4 separate regions of the Homo sapiens genome follow, and regions 1, 2 and 4 are each linked to region 3. Evidence: promoter capture Hi-C in 16 types of primary human blood cells and fetal thymus (Javierre and others, 2016). All regions are on one chromosome and are shown on one strand. Each heading gives the region's core, a stretch centred on a gene start or on the middle of the fragment in contact. The rest is flanking DNA. Distances are from core to core; before and after follow the strand shown.

Region 1 (4,501 bases), core at 1,202-3,701, 3.9 Mb before region 3:
CTTTAGCGTATCACAATCCTTCAAGTTTTCAGCAAGGTTCCCAACTTAGAAGACATTATTCAAATAATAAAAAGACCTCATCTGCCAAAATCTGTGTAATTCATGGGACTGACTCAAACAATTGTCACAAATCCAATTTCCCTTCCAAGGTTCAGGAGTTGGGGCCTACAATGACGACATCTCATTCCACTCTCAGTGTCACAAAATACATTTCAATAAATATTACCTGCCAGTTATGTATCAACTCCCAGGTTGAGAATACAATAACAACTAACTAGTTCTAGTAAGTATCCTTATTTGTCCTTGTTACCCAAACCGGGTCATTGGCCCCAACACCCTGGACTTCTGACTGTCCCTTCCAACAATTCATTCCTACCTTGCTTAGGGTATCTGACAGGTCTTTTCCATTTATTTGATAAACAACAGCTCCTGTATATCTGTTATATATAAAGCCCTGTGCTAAATATTCTCCATATTCTACACACTTGAAAAATTTCTGTTTGTTACTTTATAGCTGTCTCCAATGGAAGCTGCTCACTGTCTAACTTTCTGAACCCTATCAGACCTAATACTTGTATGCAAAAAACCCTCATGCCATTTATTTGCTTCCACAATTCTCTACCCCTCCTATAGTGGGTGCTGTGGTATGGGGCTCCCAGCTGCAGGGAGCACTGGTAGCGGACAGTTGTCAGCTGAGCTCCTCTCTGGGCATTCCATCATAAGAGAGCTTCCTCACTTAGGTCACGGCACTTCCCTGGACCAGCCCATATTCAATGCCTGGTTGATGCAGAAGCATAAGACTCAGCCCCCATATTAGGTAGGACAGTGACTGGCCAGCTCAGCTCCAGAAGTCCCCAGAGCAGCAGCTGAGGCCCCAACTGCAAATGCACTTCGGCCTCTCCCTCTGCCCAGTCCTGCTTCCCTCATCCCTCAAGACGTATTCTGAGAGCACTCCCTGATAAACCTTACGCAAATCCCACTTCCCTGGGAAGCCAACCTACAACGGGTGCTACCAGGAGTGGTAAGCAGCTCTCAATTTGGATTTTGGAGCTGGCTTGCCGGCCACTGGCTGGCAATGAGGACCCTGTCCCTGGTGGTAGGGGGGTACTGACAGCACCTGTCATAGAGCTGTAGTGCAGCTGATGCAGCTCTCACCAATGGGGACCTGGGATGGAATGCTGGCGGAAGGGAATGTACTGGCTGATGTGTTATTCTGGGAGTTTAGGAGGAATCAGCAATTTTAAGGACTTATATCAGACGGCTGTGGCTGGGGCCATGGAGAGGGATGGTGAGATGAAGTGTGTAACTAATCACCAGTGAAGGTGAGTGCCAAGGGCAGGAGCCTCCTCCCCGGCAGAACAAGACTCAAATTGCACCCAGAGGATAGAAAATGCGTGGGTGAGGTCTGGGGCGGAAGGGATTCAGGGAGTTTGGCATTTCAAGCCCATGAGACCTCCCACACCAAGGTCAGGGTCCTGATTTGGGAGGAAAGGCAACCTAAAGCTGGGTAGGGGGCCCTTGAGGTCAATGTTGTAAAAAATCTTGAATCCCAATTCTCCTGACCCCTCTAGCCCTGAAGCAGCAGCTCAGTGTCTGGTAAAGGTTGGCACTTCCTCCACCTTGGAAACTGGGCGAGGGGTGGGTGGGGGTTTCTGCCTAGCAAGATACGTGCTGCTCTCAGGAGGGCTCTCCACCTCCCCTCCTGGCCAAGTTACAACACGACTGGGCATGAGAAGGGTGAGAAGAACAATACTCGGAAGGAGCTGGAGGTCCCCCCGGGGGGGGGGGGAACATAGACACCACTGCTTCTTAAGGGTGGTGTGTCAAGGGCACAGAACACAAAACCAGCTGAGAGTTGATCAGCATGGGGCACGCTCCTGTGATGAATTTAGCAACCAGGCAAGCACCCTGGGAACTGATATGCAGCTGGCTAGGTCTGCTCCTGGAAACTTCGAGACAGTGATGGTCCACATTAAGTAAAAGTGACAGAACAGCCATGGCAAACTGGACGAAAGGCTCAACAGCCTCCAAGAATGGGGATGCTACCATAGATATAAGATATAAAGCCCGAAAACCCACCAGCTGACTATGTTCTTAGGAGGGACAGGAGGACACTGTGTACCAAAGCCACAAGGAAGCCACAGTTACATCTTTATAGAGCAGGATGCCCTGACAGAAATGGAGATGAAAGAATTATGAAGCAGAGACCAGGCTGGGGTGTTAAACAGAAGCCAAGGTGGGTGCAACCATCATAACTAATGGCAAGGCTGGAGTGGCAGTCGGGAGTGTCTGACCTACAGAAAGCAACAGAGTTGATGACTAGAACACAGTGTTTCCAAAGGGAAGACACAAGGGCAGCGGACAAGGCTACTTCTGAATTACACAGTCATGAGAAATTAACTACAGATGATTCCTGAGGCTGAAGGCAGCTGCTCTAATGCAAAGTCCTGAACATTGCCCCAGTTTCTGGACCTGAACCAGTTTTCAGACCTGGAACGCATTTACTGAAGGAAAGCGTATGTAACTGACTCCCCCCGTCCTTCACCAAAAGGACCTACAGTTATCAACTTGGACATAGTCTGTGCTGACAGTGATACCCAAGGACCCAAAGAGTCATGATGACCCCCTGACCGCCCTCCATCACCGGATGTAAGAAGCTCACAGGTGGGTCCAGGGACTTACCTGGCAATAATTTCTGTGATTTCCAAATGTATAAATCAAGGGGATGTACTGAGTAACTGGCAACAATAACTCCCACTTTAGTTCCTTTGGAAGTGGGTTAAGAGCCATCGCAGTGGGAAAAGTCAAATGGAAGCCCCTGAAGCTGCCCTTTCGGTGACCAAGATAGGAAATTAAAAATGATATCACATCTATGGGGAATGGCAGAGTATTCTTAGAGACCTTAGATACAGGCATGGCGATCCCCATCACGGTCCCTTGTAATTTACCAGTCTTCCTTTACAAAACACAAATAGGTGCTGGAGAATGACAGTGGTTAACTGCAAACTCAACCAAGTGGCAGCCGGGGTACACATGTAATACCACAAATGGTAACTTTACAGGGGAATGCATTAACACAATCTCATGGTATTGGCCATTGCTTTGAAGAACGCCTTCTATTCAGAAGCAGCAGCAGTAGTCTGTAGTAACATGAAACAGATAATAACAGTGTATGTTTATGATCCTGCCCAGGATTTGCTAATTCTCTCACCCTCTATCATAACAGTCTTAAGGGACTGAAACCTTCTGGACCTGGGCTGTCTAATACAGTAGCCACTTGCCACTCATGGCTATTTCAGTTCAATTTTAAATTAATTAAAATTAAATCAATTCAGTTCTTCAGTCACAAGTTTTAGCAACATTTCAAGTGCTCAAAATAGCTACAAGTGGCCAGGAACTACCCAAATGGACAGCACAGATATAGGACATTTCTATGCAGAAAGTTTTATTTGAATAATGCTGTTCTGGACATTCAGGAGAATATCACATTTGTCTACTATATTTATGCCATCATGTTAGAGCCCATAAGTAACAAGTGGCAAGTGTGTTAGAAGGCTTGGTCAGAGAAGCTGCAAGTGTGAGAGGTGGGTCCAACAAAGATGCAGAGGCTCATCAACACATGAGCCGACCTCGTGGGGCTACACTGGGGCGTGCCAAGACATGCCCTCCCAAGTAAAAGACAATTGTACCCTATACCTCCTACCACAATGCTTCATAGGCCTGTTTGAATTCTGGACGCAGCATATTCCATATTTGGGAATGTTGCTCCCATCAATTCACTCAGCCACAAGGACTGTCACGTCTGAATGGGGTGCAGATGAGGGAAGGGGTCCCTAAGCAGGCCTGGTGTGCAGTGCAAGCATGAGCACTGTTGCCTGAGCCAGATGACCTGATGCACATGCTGTTTGCCACTTCTATGCCTTTCACCTCTGCATACAGGTTGTTCCTTCGTGCTGAACTAGTATGAATGAAAAGCTAGGTTTTTGGCATAGTCAGCAGACTCTAAAACAATTGGTATGATCCAATTTTTTGGGTTAAAAATTATTAAAAGGTATGTGTATGAAAGTGCAAAATGTTAAAAATAGTCATCTTCGTGTGGTATAATCATGGCGGTCTAAATTGCTTTGTCTTTTTTTTTCCTACAAATCACATGCGAAATGAAGACATTAAAAAAAAATCTTAAAATATCTGTGAATACATCTCTGACTTTCCCTGACAACTTACATTCCATCCTCCCTATTTTATGTTTTTCTATTACTGCAGGTAACATGTGAAAGTTTTCCCTACCAGTTATGAGTCAATAATCTCTCTCTCTCTCTTTTTATCCTATCCAATTACTCTTTATTATATGTAACAGAGCCAATATAACTTGAGAAAAATTTCCCAAACATAATGAAAAAAAGTTATATCAAATTCAAGATCAACTTTCACATCTGAGTTCCAATCTGTGAAGAAAACTGTAGATCTATATGTTCTAGTTCTAAATTATGTTTAAACGGTT
Region 2 (4,471 bases), core at 1,108-3,607, 4.3 Mb before region 3:
CTGGAGAGGCGTTTATCAGTGTTAATAAATAACACTGTCATCCACCTGTTGCCAAAAATGTACGCAGGGAAGCTACCTGTTCACATTAAAGGAAATCCTATTTAGCAGGACAATATGCTACATGTGGTGATTTTCATCTGGGTTCCTGGTTATTAAATGCCACAAATCCCAAGCTCACTGTGGTACATTCTCATTAATATTATTCTCTTGTAGTCAAATTAACCAGTGGCATTGTAGCTAAAGTCACTCAAAAATATAGTCACGTGCCACATAACATTTCCATCAACAACAGCGGTGGTCCCAAAAGATTATAATGGAGCTAAAAAATTCATTTTCTGTCTAGATATGTTTAGATACACAAATACCTACCACTGTGTTACAACTGCCTACAGCATCCAGTAAAGGTACATGTACGGGTTTGTAGCCTAGGAGCAATAGGCTACACCATATAGCCTAGGTATGTAGGAGGCTGTACCATCCAGGTTTGTGTGAGCGCAGCTCAGGATGTGCACACAACAACGAATCGCCTAACAATGCATTTTCTTGGAATGTATCCCCATCCTTAAGCAACATATGACTGTAATTATCTAAGTTACGACTTTCACTAAAAGAGAGGAAACAGGGATCAGATTGTTCCACCATCAGAGATGGGCTAAAAAGCAACTCCTGTTAATCACTCATCCAGTCAAACCAGGCTAGGCCAGGTTCCAGTTTCTCCTCCCATTCACACTTCTGGGTTACTCCTGTTTCACTTCCCCCCACCTCCCCCGTTACAAAGCCATTAAATGGAACCATTTTTATATGCTCTGGAGAACACCACTAATTAAGGTAAAAGCAGTATGCTGATTTAAGCAAAAGCATTATCCTTTTAAATGACACCTCACTCCCCTCTAAAAATCTAAAGTTCATACGGAGTAACTTTATTTATTTATTTAGAGACAGGTTGTCATTCTGTCACCCAGGCAGGAGTGCATTGCTGTGATTTTGGCTCACTGCAACCTCTGTCTCCCAGGCTCAAATGATCCTCCTGCCTCAGCTTCCCAAGTAGCTGGGACTGCAGGTGCGCACCACCACACCCAGCTAATTTTTGTATTTTTTGTAGAGACGGGGTTTGCTCGTGTTACTCAGGCTGGTCTCGAACTCCTGGACTCAAGCGATCTGTCCGCCTTGGTCTCCCAAAGTGCCGAGGTTACACACATGAGCCACCATGCCTGGCAAGGGAGTAACATGATTTAAATGTTGAGACTAGTGGAGGGCAGGAGAAATTGCTGTGGCACCTGGAACCGTCAGTAGTACACACAAATGAGTCTTCTAGTTCTGAGAATCTCAGTCCCTGTCCCTTGATAATTGAAGGCATATATAACACAAATAACTGAATCACACCTTCATGTCTGATTAAGAACCAATAAAAGAATCTCCAATCTGCCCAAGCTAGAACTTGATCCCTAAGCATAATGTGGACTTCTCTTCCTCCACTCCTGCCTGCAAACATTAGGGACAAGGAAGGTATTGGTAGCAGGCCCCGGGTTCTCCGCCTCTTCCTGCAGTCTATGCTTGGATGATCTACGGAATCTGACCTTGGCAGGCGGTGGGGAGTTTGGTTTGGTGGCCCTGTCTGTGAGGACCAAATATTGTCTCTATTTCACAGATGAGGAAACTGAAGCCAATTGAATAAGACACCTGCCCCAGACCATCAAGCTGGCATGGGAATTTTGTCTCCCCTCAGACGCTTCCTCCTATAGCCTTAAACGCTGCCTCAAATGCTGGCGGGAGCTAGGGACGCTGTCCAGGGCCCTTTGAACCTGGGAGGCTTCTGTCCCGCCACACTCCCCACCCCAGGTCTCCGGGAAAGGGATCCGTTGGAGAAAGGCTGGAGTTCTCAGCAGGCCCCTGGGGAGGGGTGTGGCCTGACCAGCGCTCGGCTCCCCGCAACCCCATCTCCAACCCGGGTCGTTCCACTCGACTCCACCAGGGAGGGCCACGCAGGCTCAGGCCAAGTGCGCCGCCCAGCTTGTCCCTGCGTACCGGGGACGCGCTCGGCGCTGCTGGGACACGAGTGGCCCGGAGGTGCGAGAGGCCCCGGGGCCATGGCCGTCACGGGCCTCCGCCCCCGACCGCGCGCTCGGGAACAGCCCGGACACCATTGTTCCCGCCTGGCTGCGGCCGGGCGCCCCACGCTCCCCCACGAATGAGGCGTGACTCTCGCCGCTGACCCGGGTCCTCCCCGCCCAGCCCGTTCCCAGCTCAGGGCGCCCACCCGGGAAGGAAGGTCCATCAGGAAGACCCACCTGGGAAGGAAGGCCCACTAGGCAAGGCCCTGTTACCAGCAGCAAGCGCGGCGCCGGTTCCGTACCACGTGTCCCGGCCACGACCCCCGGCGCTGGCCCGCCCCGCGGTCGCCCTGGCCACCAACCCCGCCTTGTCCGGAGGGCAGGCATCGCCACGCCCCCGCCACGCCCACCAATCCAGCCACAGGCAGAGGGGTGGTGTCACTCTCTCCCCGCCCCATTTCCGCCCTGAGCCAGGTGCGGAAGGTGACGTCACCTCTCCCAGCTCCATTTCCGTCCCGCCCACCAATCCCGGCCTGGTCCACAAGGCTTTCGCCTCGTCGCCCCTCCCCGACGGTAGACGGGGATGTGGGCGTGGCGAGGGGGCGGAGATTTCGTGGGTTGGGATTCAGGGGAGGCAGGGCACACGGGAGCGCGTGTCCGGAGCTGTGGGCTTGTGCTGTGCTTCCCGGTTGCTCTTGGGTGGGCGGGGGGCCTGGTGCTTCAACGGTGGGGTCCGAGAAGTCGCCTGCAGTGCGGCAATGGAGTCCAAAACTAGGGGGCCCTGACTCCACCCTCTGATCTCCCAGGCTCCGGAGGTCCCACGACGCTCCCATTCCCTTGCGCATCCAGCACTGCACTTTCCGTTGCGTTTCAGTCCCGGCGGAGTCGGGGCACGGACTCCTGCGGGTCACACAAGCTCCAATGAGAGGTCGGTCTGAACTGGATTAGGAAAGCGTTCGCCAGCATCGTTACCAGTAGTGGAAATATTTTAGTATTTGTGTCCCATGACCCTAGGAACTGATGAAGGAAGCAGAGCCAGCACCGTGTTTGAGCGTCTGCGACAGCGCTTTCCTTTTTAATCTTAACAACAATTCTTGGGGGTAAAATTGTTATTCCCTAGTCTGCTCACTTTTCCAATAGAGTGTTCTCAAAAGACTTTCTTTAAACTTGTACCACTACCACATTCTTTAAGGAGTGATGGCTCGGGAGTTATTATTTTTTAAAAATGAATTTAATAGTTGTAAGAGATGTATACGTTCCCACATAAAGTAAAATGTTAAAATTGTCTCCTCCCTTAAAATTTACATGGTTTGTTTCCTCTTTTTATATTTATTTATTTATTTATTTATTTATTTATTTAGAGACAGAGTCTTGCTCTGTTGCCATGCTGGAATGCAGTAGCCCAGTCTCAGCTCACTGCAAGCTCCGCCTCCCAGGTTCAAGCCATTCTGCCTCAGCCTCCCGAGTAGCTGGGACTGCAGGTGCGCACCACCGCACCCAGCTAATTTTTGTATTTTTAGTAGAGACAGGGTTTCACCATATTGGTCAAGATGGTCTCGATTTCTTGACCTACTGATCCACCCGCCTCAGCCTCCTAAAGTGCTGGGATTACAGGCGTGAGCCACCCCGTCCCCCCCATCCCTGCCTCCTCTTTTATTTTTTATTTCTATTCCACATCCCTCATAGAATTTTGTTAAATGTAACATTTTTATACTTAATAGTCTTACTCATATCCTAATCATTTCTCTACAACAGACTATGATAAAAATTTAAATTAATATTTACTTTGCTATAACCAGATGAGATTAGGCATGTTCAGGGTGGTATGGCCATAGACACTTTGCTATAACCAAAAAGCTTTAAGTATTAACATTTTTTCTTCTGGATTAAATTCTCATAATAATTATTGTACATGAATGATAAAAAGAAAAAACTATATTACACATTTTGCAAACATTGCAAAAAGTAAACATTGGTGGAAGATACATCCTTTAATCATATCTACTGGGCTTTTAAATAAATTCGTTCAGGTATCCATAAATGAGATTATTGCTGAAAAGAGGGTTTGGTTAAAAAAAAAAACAAAACACACACACACACACACACACATATGTATATAGCAAAAAGAAGTGATTTAGAGTAGAAGCCATAACACACTACTGTTACCAAAATTTAATAGGCTCAAGGTAAGAATAAATAATGAGCAAAGAAGTAGTTGAGAACTTTAGAGCAATCAGATGCTTCAGTCCAAGTGAAAACATGAAAATGCATTTGCAGTACTCAGTGTTGAAGAAGTTGGTGAACATGTTTCTCCTATGAATCTGAATAAATGTTAAGAAAATACAAAACACAACATTTACCCTTAATATAGAACCCTGTTACCTGGAAATATGTTAATTGTCATTATTCCCCTGGGAACA
Region 3 (4,495 bases), core at 1,393-3,892:
AGGAGGATCATTTGAGGTCAGGAGTTCGAGACCAACCTGGTCATTGTGGCGAAAACCCATCTCTACTAAACATACAAAAATTAGCTGGGCATAGTGGCTCATGCTTATGATCCCAGCTATGTGGGAGGTGGAGGCAGGAAAATCACTTGAACCCAGGAGGCAGAGGTTGCAGTGAGCGGAGATCACACCACTGCACTCCAGCCTGGGCGACAGAGTGAAGTAACTGGTAAAAAATAATACAGTCAATACACTAGAATATATATGTGTGTTTTTAAATAGTAGAATTAATAAATCAAAGGTTGATTTTTTTTTAGGAAAAATTGCTGAATCAATAGTCTAATAGGAGAATGATAGATTATTTGCTTTGAATGTAATGAATGGGATTTAATTATTTTTGTCTAATTACAGGAGCAATATATGCTCAACAATGAAAATAAAATAAAATGTTTATGTTGACCTTGGGTGCAACATAAGTAAAACCCTTTCATAGTTTGACCCCCATTTTACTTGTAACATGCTTGTTTTAAGTCAATGGATTTTTTATATTTCTTCTACAGTATTATCGCCCCTTACCCCACTGCATCTACAGTCTCTCATCACCTAAGATTGTTCATCTCAGAAACATCATTGACAAGTTATTTCTATTATTTTTCTGTATTGTCATGTGTTTTTTGACCTTGACACTTCAAATCCGTAATTAACACCTTCCTTCCTGGATAACTACAGACACTTCTGAGTTGGTGTAACTGGTTCTGCAGTGCCCACTGTGGTATGCTATCCATCAGGACATGTGGTCTTTGGGTCAAGGAATTCAGCCACTGTTACAATCTTGGCCAGGCAGGCTTAGGCATGGGCTAGTGGAATCTTGGTTTAATATCCGTATCTCTTTCCTCCTACTTTCCAATTTCCTGCTGATGCCTCCTATCGGCGGCAACCAACTGGAAGCCAGAGGGCCAGGCAGCCTGGATAGTGCAGTCTTTTTGCCTGTTCAGGTCAGTTGATGCAGAGCTGGAAGAGCTGGGAGGAACCACTAGAAGGTGGAATGGAGAATATCCAGCATGCTAGCAGCAATCTTGCCCTTCCTCTCTTCTTCCCAGAGATAATATGGCCACCTTGAATTTTGTTCTTTTCCCGAATTTGACACACTCCGTCTGGATTCTTGCCTTTGCAAATACAGGTTTCTCCTGCAGGAATTTCCTTACCCAACTTCTTTGTGTGGCAAACTCCTACTTACTCTTTAAGATCCAACTCAAATATCATCACTCTCCTATTGACACACATGAGGAGGCAGCAAGGCACTCTAAATAGAACAAAGAAACATCAGGTCAGCTCCTCAATCTGTCACTTACTAGTTAATGTGACTTTGTGTGGGGGTACTTTTGTGATTCTAAGTTTCCTCTTTGGCAAAATAGGAATGGGAATACAGTAGGCCTTTGCTGTCCACTGGTTGCACACAGAGAATTCAACACACGGGATGGAAAATATTCGGGAAAAAACCCCACAGTTGAAAATAACAATACAACAATTAAAAAATAATATGAATAAAAGTACAGTGTAACAACTATTTACATAGCATTTACAGTGTATTAGGTATTGTAAGCAATCTAGAGATGATTTAAAGCATATAGGAGGATGTGTGTAGGTTATATGCAAATACTACACCATTTTATAAAAGAGACTTAAGCATGGGTGGATTTGGGTATCTGCGGGGGTCCTGGAACCAATTACCTAGGGATACCGAGGGCCCACTTTACCTGCCTTGACATCCCTTTCCCAGGGAACGTGAAATGATCAGACCGAGAAAATGCAAATCATTTTCCAAATGTAATTTTGTTGTTGTTCTTACCGCTGCTTATAATTAAAAAAAAAATAATTTGCTCAGCTCGATCACTGTGCACGGTGCAAAAAATCAACTTTGGTACCATTCAGCAAATCATACCCCCACGTCCCGCCTTTATTTTCCTTTTTTGCAGCCCGGTTTCTCTCTTCTGCTCACTCATACCCGCCCACCCCGCTTTTGTAGCTTGCTTGTTCATATCTGAACTTGGGTATCCAAAGACACTGCTTGACTTTGCAGGTACATTTCACAGTTAAAGAGGGTTCGTCATTTAGTAGTCGGGGATGGGGAGAACTGTCACAAAGCAAAAGTCTACATTCTAAATCGTGAAGTTCTGGGAGCTGAGAATCAGATTGGCAGGGCCAAGAACGAATCCGTCGACGAGCCGGGAGGCGGGGCTCCTGCTGGGGCCTCTGCAGCCCGCGCTGGGTTCCCGAATTCCCGCGCTGTAAGCCGGAACCCCAGGCCAGCGGGCGCCGCGGCGGGCCCGGAGATCGGTGCAGGACGCACGGCCTAGCCAGAACTACAACTCCCGACGTGCGCGGCGGCCAACGCTGGTTCTATCCCTGCTTGTTGCTTTTTTTTTTCCCTCCGCTTCTTGCGACGGAGACTGCTGTCCAGGAAGTGCGCAGTAGTGATTCTAGAGAGGCTGGAAGCTCTCCTGGCGACGCTGGGGCCGCGAAGGGCTCACGTAATGACTCCTACTCCTGGTGAGCGCAGGCGTTGCGGAACTCACCGTCCCACAGGACGTGTTTCCGGGGGTACATTAATTGTGGCTGGACGCAGTGGCGCGGCAGTTTAATTCTCCGGCGGCTGCAGATTGACGGGACGAGATGGTCCTGGCAGGGCTCATCAGGAAACTCGGTAACTGTCAGCTTGCCCCTCGCCCAAGGCACCCCCCGCGCTCTGGCCACTTGCTGAGAATGGTCGTGTCACGTTTCCGCGGCCGGCCGCTCCGCGACCGCTCCCTCTTTCACCCCCGCTTTGTCAGGATAGCCCCCGGGGACCCATCTCGGACTTTGTGTAAACTTCGCGGTTCGCGTCCCGAAGGCACCAGTGGCCTGCTTCTGAAAAAAACTGGTTTATTCCGTCTTCACGCCGCTCCTGCCCACAGCATAAATAACGTAGTCTCTTTGCAGTCGGGAAATAAAATAGTTTTGTGCCGTTCGTTGACAGGTCATCAGCTGGCCGAGATCAGGGAGCGCGCTCTCAAGAGTATTCTCTGCAAGATTGAGCACAACTTAATCTGCTACGCTGATCTCATTCAGGAGAGGCAACTTTTTCTTCATTTGCTGGAATGGTTCAATTTCCCGTCCGTTCCGATGAAGGAAGAGGTTCTGAACCTGTTAAGCAGATTGGTTAAGGTAGGGTCATTTTGAAATAAAGAAAATAATCAGACGAGTGACTTGTTTCTTAGTCATTTAATTGTAGCGTTTATTGAAAGTTAAATAATTGGGGTTAAAAGTTTTTTTAATCAACCAGAGATGTTTAATTTTAATTAATCTGGGTATATGGTTCATCTTTTATTTGTGATACTGAATCCCACATGGTCTCTGCTGTGCTCAGAAGTAACACAGAACTTCTTTTGAGTTTTGGTATGTTCTGTGTTTTTGAGTTATCTTTGGAGGTTAATATTTGTATTCTGTTTTTGTTTTCTGACATTTACATCTTAAAAACTAGATATGTCAGTATGAAAGGGAGCACTTTAAAAATAATGTTACATAACCGTGATTCATAAATACCAATGTTAAGTTGCTTGCCCATATGCTTTTAGATTGGTATTCTTATGCCTACCTCAAGAGTAGTTAGTTATCGGGGTCAGATATCAAAGTGTAAGTTTAACCTTTCAAAACTAAATCACTGTACAATGGTAGAGGAATCTTAAACTACTTTGACATCCTGTTGACCGGTTGGGGCTGGGACCATAAGGTGAGTGTCAGTGGAAAAAAGTAACCCATTAAAAAAATAAGAGTAGGGATTGATAATGTGCATTTCTAGCGTTCAGTGTGTTGGCTCATCTTTCATAAATGTTATCAAGTGTTGGATGTATGTCTCTATAGGTGTATGTGCTCCTCATGGAAGTGCCTTACTTCGGGGCAGAGCCATGAAGGATTTGTTTTTCAGAAAAGGAACATCTGATATACCAAAAATAATTTTATGTTTTGATTGCTGTAAGTTATAGAGATTTTGATACAGTTATTCTCAAGATCATCCTCTTCTTATTTTAGTATCCCCCAGCAGTCCAACATTTGGTTGACGTTGGTGCAGTAGAGTTCTTATCTAAGCTTCGGTCTAATGTGGAGCCAAATCTGCAGGCTGAAATTGATGGCATTCTGGATGGACTTTTTCTTCTTCCTTCGGAAGTTCCTGCACTATCTTCTGCCTCATACCAAACCAATCAAACTGGTAACTCTTTGGAATCTGTTAAATACAAATATATTAATTCTAATGGTAAATTTTAAGGAAAGGGAGATTAGATTTTTTTAAAAAGGATTTCTCCCACCTCCCCCAAACTTATTTTTCTTGTGTTAACTTACATGATTTTGACCTTTTTCCCCTCCTCTACTGTTAGTCAAAGGATGGTACATTTGCATTAATTGCTTTTTGGGTCAGGCCTAAACGATGCCAGTGACTTTGCTTTTATGAGGCCAGTTTGAC
Region 4 (4,763 bases), core at 171-2,670, 4.4 Mb before region 3:
GTCAGGCAGCCGCGGGTCTCCCCGCAGTGGCGCAAAGCGAGCTGAAGTCGGGAATGGCTAGGACCCTTCGCTGCCACCGCGGTGCTTTCGGCCACCGCACTTGTGTGCCCTCCGCCCGCCCACACCAGCGTCGCTTAACGGAAGAAGGCGCGAGTAGCAGCGGCGCAGCCAGGGCACCTGGGGGTGACACGAGAGTGGGCGGGCGGTCCAGGGAGCCCCTGCTGGAAACCAGACGCTAAAGCTTGCAGCTGTGCAGCTAGGGGAGCATCTGTTTTCCACTTGAGAGCAACCCGGGCACGCGAGAACGGCCCGATTTCGGTGCAGGGGTGCGTCCCGAAGGAACGGGGGACTGTTTCTGCGCGGACAGGCGAACCCGGCAGGGGAAACCGAGGCCACGCTAGGTCCGCAGCCCCGAGGTGTCCACAAGAGCTCCGCTCGCGCAAGGGCGCGGAGCGAGGCTGCCCGCGGGACCGGCCTGCGGAGCGAGCGGGTGAGAGGGCAGGGCGGCAGCTGGGGCCTGGGGGAGGAGGGCGGCGAGGCAGCGTGAGCGAACGAGCGAGGGTGTGTGTCCGGGCGTGAGTCTGGGCGGGTGTCGGGAAGGAAGGCGACAGGGAGGGGCGGAGGCGGGGGGAGGGGGGAGGAGAAAGAGCGAAGGGCCCAGACGGGGCTCTGGGCGCCCAGCCGCCCGGCTTCGAGCCCTCAAGCCACCGCCCCCAGGCCCCGCGCTGACGCTGGACGGTCCCCGCCTCCAAACCCCCCGCCCCGGCCAGAGAATAACTTACCTGTTTGGCGACGGAATCGCTCCTGCTCGCCCCTCTGACTGACTCCTCCGGCTCACCGTCTTCCCTTTGGGAGGAAGAGGCGGGACATCCTGTTTCTCCGTCGAAGGACTTCCGGTGGCTTCCAAGGCGACTCCGTAGTGGATGCAGCGCCGGACGCCACAGCCGAAAAACAGAATCTTGGAACTGGTTTAGTACAATCCAGGTCGAGTTCCTTGTTTTTTATCCGAGTGGCCGGCAGGCCCATGTGCTGTCTTGTTTTTAACACATCAGCTCTTGCCGGAAGCCGCTAAGAGATAAAATAGGAAGTCCCACCCTTCCCTTAGAGAAGGAAAACGGAGAGCCGAAGGAGTCAATCTAAATTCGATGAGCGCGTCGGGCTCCAAGGCAGGCGCTGTCAGCCCGGGAGGGCTGTCTGGGATTTCTAGAGGGTCCCAGAACGGGTTCTTCCCAGGCCGATCCCGCCTGCTTCCTGCCCCGTCTCTCCACCCGCCTCCCGCCCTCTGTAAGGGACCCCGAGGGCGGCGCCGGAAACACGGAGAAGGCCCAGAACGGCGCGGGACCCGAGAGGCCTACGTTGGCAAACGCAGCCCGCTGCCCCTTTGCTCGCTTCCCCCGGGCCTGGAGTGGCTCCTGTCGCTTCTGGCGCTCCGATTTCGAGAAATGACTTTCAGCTGTGCAAGGCGAGAATGCTACTTTAGATGATGAGAAAAAATCTCTCGAATGGCTCCCAAAATGAGGTCCTTGTTTAAGAGGCCACAGGAAGCCGCTAGCCGAACTCTGATACCAAAGAGGAGGCCAAGAAGCGGACTGTGGCTTGGTGACCTGTTTGGTATTGCCAAATTTTCAGCTTTTATTAAAGCTGAAACACCTTGGCTGTTTAAAACGTTCGACAAGGACTTTTTTATGAACGTTAACGGCACAGCATACGGGTTTTTTGGAAAAAAAAAAAGGCAGGACTTCAGCCCGTCCGCCCCCTTGTGCAGGTCCATTCATGAACCTCGAGTTAGAGGCCTTTCTTCTGAAACTCAGAATCTAGTAGGGAAGACCTGTGTAGACGAATAAAAATAAATACATCACAGCTTGTTAAGTGCTGTGACAAAGAGGCAGTGAAATCCTGCTTGAGGTCATCTGCCTTGCTAAAGAGGTTTGACTATGTTGTAGGCACAGGGTTAGGGTTAGACTCTGTAATGGGAAGTTATGTGATCAGATTTCTGTTTAGGAAGATCACTGGCCAGGCGGGGTGGCTTACGCCTGTAATCCCAATACTTTGGGAGGCCGAGTCGGTGGATTGCTTGAGGCTAGGATTTTGAGACCAGCCTGGGGAAACCGCGTCTCTACTAAAAATTTGAAATTAGCCAGGCATGGTGGTGCGAGCCTGTAATTCCAGCTACTTGGAGGCTGAGGCGGGAGAATAGCTTGAACCCAGTGGCGGAGGCTGCAGTGAGCCGAGATTGCGCCACTGCACTCCAGCCTGGGCGACAGAGCGAGATTCCGTCTCAAAAAAATCATTGTAAGTAATTGGATTTTTGTGTGTGTGTGATGTTCTGAAGATAGGCTTTCTAGGCCAAATCGTCACTCAAGGCCAATTCGAACACAATTCAGTTTAAATCAGAATACATTCGAGTGATAATTCCTTACCTTTTTAAATAGTTCATAGAAAACTTTTTGTAGACATTATCTGGTTTAATTCTGATTGTAATCCACATGAATTCTCTTATCCACAGTAAGGAACAGTAATTTAGAAGACTAATAAACTGTTCCAAGATCACACAGCTAGTAAAAGTGGAACTCAACCTAAAACTCCAGAGTCAAGCTTTTCCATCATGTAGACTCAGTTTAATAGTAATAGTTAATTAAAAATTCTAGAGAAAAATGTGGGAAACAATTTCCTCACAAGTGACCAGCTGCAAATGTTATTTGTATTCCATTAACCAACATTTATTGGGTGCCTGTTATATAAAAGATAAAACTGGGTTCTGCCTTCAAAGAGTTCACTTGAAATTTAAAATTTATGTGAAAATTTAGCACTTCCTACAGTGTTTTAATAGCTATTTCAACAGTGTTGGTGTTGTATGACAAGGTGATAAATTTCTTGACAATAACAATAGCACAATTCTGTATATGGATTGGGCATTCTGTGATCTTTGGGTGATTTATCTTGCTACCTTTCTTACCTTGGGGGTTTAGTTAACACTTATGTTCCTCCCCTGAGCAGTGAAGTAAAATCTAAGTTTATGTTTCAGTTCTATTTTGAGTATTTTGAGTTACTAAGACAGGACCTTAAGGAAGTCAGTTTGACCTCATTTCCAACTGAGAGAGTCCATAGATGTCATTCAAGACTAATTTTCTGATTCTAAGGAAAAAGGGAAGTCTTTTTTTTTCTTCCTCTCTTTATTTTTGAATGAATAATGCTTGACATGGACAACACAGACTTTTAGTGAAGACAGAGAGTCCTAGTGATGAAACCACCTTTGCAAAAATTACAACTGAGAAAATTATGACAGTGAAAGAGATCTGACCTAACCAATTCCATCTTGCTTCTAAACTCTGTCCTTGTTCATTCCTGGGCATAGGCAGAACTAACTCTGGAAGGAACTTAGTTTATAGTGTAACTTTGAAACAAAGATGATAACAGCTCATTCTGAAAACAAACCCCTTTCTGGCCTGGGGACCAGACTGCCTTTTTAGGGCTAGCAAATTAGCCACAAGATTAGAAATTACAGTTTAGGAATAATGCAGCTAGAGGCCACAAGATTCTAAACCTCCCCAATTGTTCCTAAGGATAATATCACTATTGTAAAACCCAAGATTGGTGCTTAAGATGTTTTTCAGACCCCGCACTCATGGATCAGCTGGCATCACTCAGATGGATAAACTGGCTCATCTAGTCCTGTAGCCCCCACCCAAGAACTGACTCAGTGCAAGAGGACAGTTTCAACTCCCTATGATTTCATGTCACACCAGAGCCATCAATTCTCCCCGCTCCCTGGTCTCCTACTCCCCCAAATTATCCTTTAAAAATCCCAGTCTCTGAATTTTCAGGAGACTGCTTTAAGTAATAATAAAACTCTGGTCTCCTGTTTAGCCAGCTCTGTGTGAATTAAACTCTTTATTGCAATTCCTTTGTCTTGATGAATCCACTGTCTGGGCAGCGGGCAAGATGAACCCGTTGGGTGGTTACAATGACACCAGGAACCCCTGGGATCAAGACTTGCTCGAAGCCAGCCACACTTGAGACCTGTTAACCAAAAAAAAAAAAAAAAATCCTTTTCTTATTTAAGTCCAGTTTTCTTTTACTTGCATCATGAAGCAACCTAAATGATAACAGAAGTTTTATTGCCAAATATACCAGTTACAGTCTTAAGAAAGTCGCAAAGGAAAAACTCAGAGCAAAGATTTTCAGTCTTCATAAGTTCAAAATGTATACTTTTATCATGTCTGAGAAAAGAAAGCAATCAATATATTCACATCTTTTTCTGGGTATATGTGATATTTTTCCATTGGATAATGAATAGTAAACACTTTTACAATAGCAAGTTGACAAAATGAGAATGTATAAAAGAAATTAAAATATATCAACTATTAAATAAATGCCAGGCATTATGCAACAAACCTTATATGCATTATTTCAAATAATTATTATAACTACTCTGAATAGACACATTATTTCCATTTTACAGATGAGAAAAATGAGGTTCAAAGAAGTGATGTCATGTTCTCTGATTCTGTCTATATTGGATACCTGGTGACGATCTCCCCCTGTCTAATACCCTAAACATACGTTCACCTGCATGCTGCTTCTGTTCTGGACCTTTGCGCTGGATGTAGTCCCAACAGAGTGGCTTGCTGGGAGGAGGGAGATACTTTTCAGATAAGGCACTAGCACTTCATCCTAACAACTTCTCCATACTGAGGCAACATTTTTAAATACACAGAGAATGCCTAGGATTCAATTGTTGAGAAAAATTGATGTAAGTCTGT

Evidence for each region. Contacts are between HindIII fragments. The CHiCAGO score rates a contact against its expected background, and 5 or more counts as called.
Region 1: a fragment that was not itself captured here is called in contact with the fragment with the promoter of RTTN in region 3 in 2 of 17 cell types (naive B cells and total B cells); the score reaches 7.1 in naive B cells.
Region 2: the fragment with the promoter of CNDP2 here is called in contact with the fragment with the promoter of RTTN in region 3 in 1 of 17 cell types (total B cells); the score reaches 5.4 in total B cells.
Region 4: a contact is called between a fragment that was not itself captured here and the fragment with the promoter of RTTN in region 3, in 2 of 17 cell types (total B cells and naive B cells). The highest score is 13.6, in total B cells.

What each region holds. Positions count from the first base shown.
Region 1 is chr18:74,149,226-74,153,726 of GRCh38, reverse strand. All of the region lies in intron 1 of TIMM21 (translocase of inner mitochondrial membrane 21), which reads right to left. Among named protein-coding and RNA genes, the nearest start is that of TIMM21, 3.0 kb to the right of the region's middle. RefSeq lists an enhancer at 2,011-3,210. The HindIII fragment of the contact is 5,042 bases long and covers 1-4,501 here.
Region 2 is chr18:74,494,249-74,498,719 of GRCh38, reverse strand. CNDP2 (carnosine dipeptidase 2) reads right to left here and starts at 2,357. Exons shown (of 12, transcript NM_018235.3): 1 at 2,289-2,357. RefSeq lists enhancers at 1,249-1,348, 1,732-2,244, 2,802-3,071 and silencers at 1,842-1,891, 2,022-2,531. The HindIII fragment of the contact is 6,969 bases long and covers 1-3,910 here.
Region 3 is chr18:70,203,834-70,208,328 of GRCh38, reverse strand. It overlaps RTTN (rotatin), which reads left to right and starts at 2,642. Exons shown (of 49, transcript NM_173630.4): 1 at 2,642-2,701; 2 at 3,014-3,201; 3 at 4,066-4,243. The coding sequence starts at 2,671. It overlaps LOC105372180 (a long non-coding RNA gene), which reads right to left and starts at 2,540. Exons shown (of 3, transcript XR_935599.3): 1 at 1,755-2,540; 2 at 1,235-1,300. RefSeq lists enhancers at 2,243-2,482, 1,945-2,574, 2,493-2,602, 2,813-2,942. The HindIII fragment of the contact is 5,232 bases long and covers 1-4,124 here.
Region 4 is chr18:74,593,957-74,598,719 of GRCh38, reverse strand. It overlaps ZNF407 (zinc finger protein 407), which reads right to left and starts at 850. Exons shown (of 9, transcript NM_017757.3): 1 at 783-850. ZNF407-AS1 (ZNF407 antisense RNA 1) reads left to right here and starts at 885. Exons shown (of 2, transcript NR_024484.1): 1 at 885-2,292. RefSeq lists enhancers at 1-74, 865-1,074 and a silencer at 465-764. The HindIII fragment of the contact is 2,354 bases long and covers 244-2,597 here.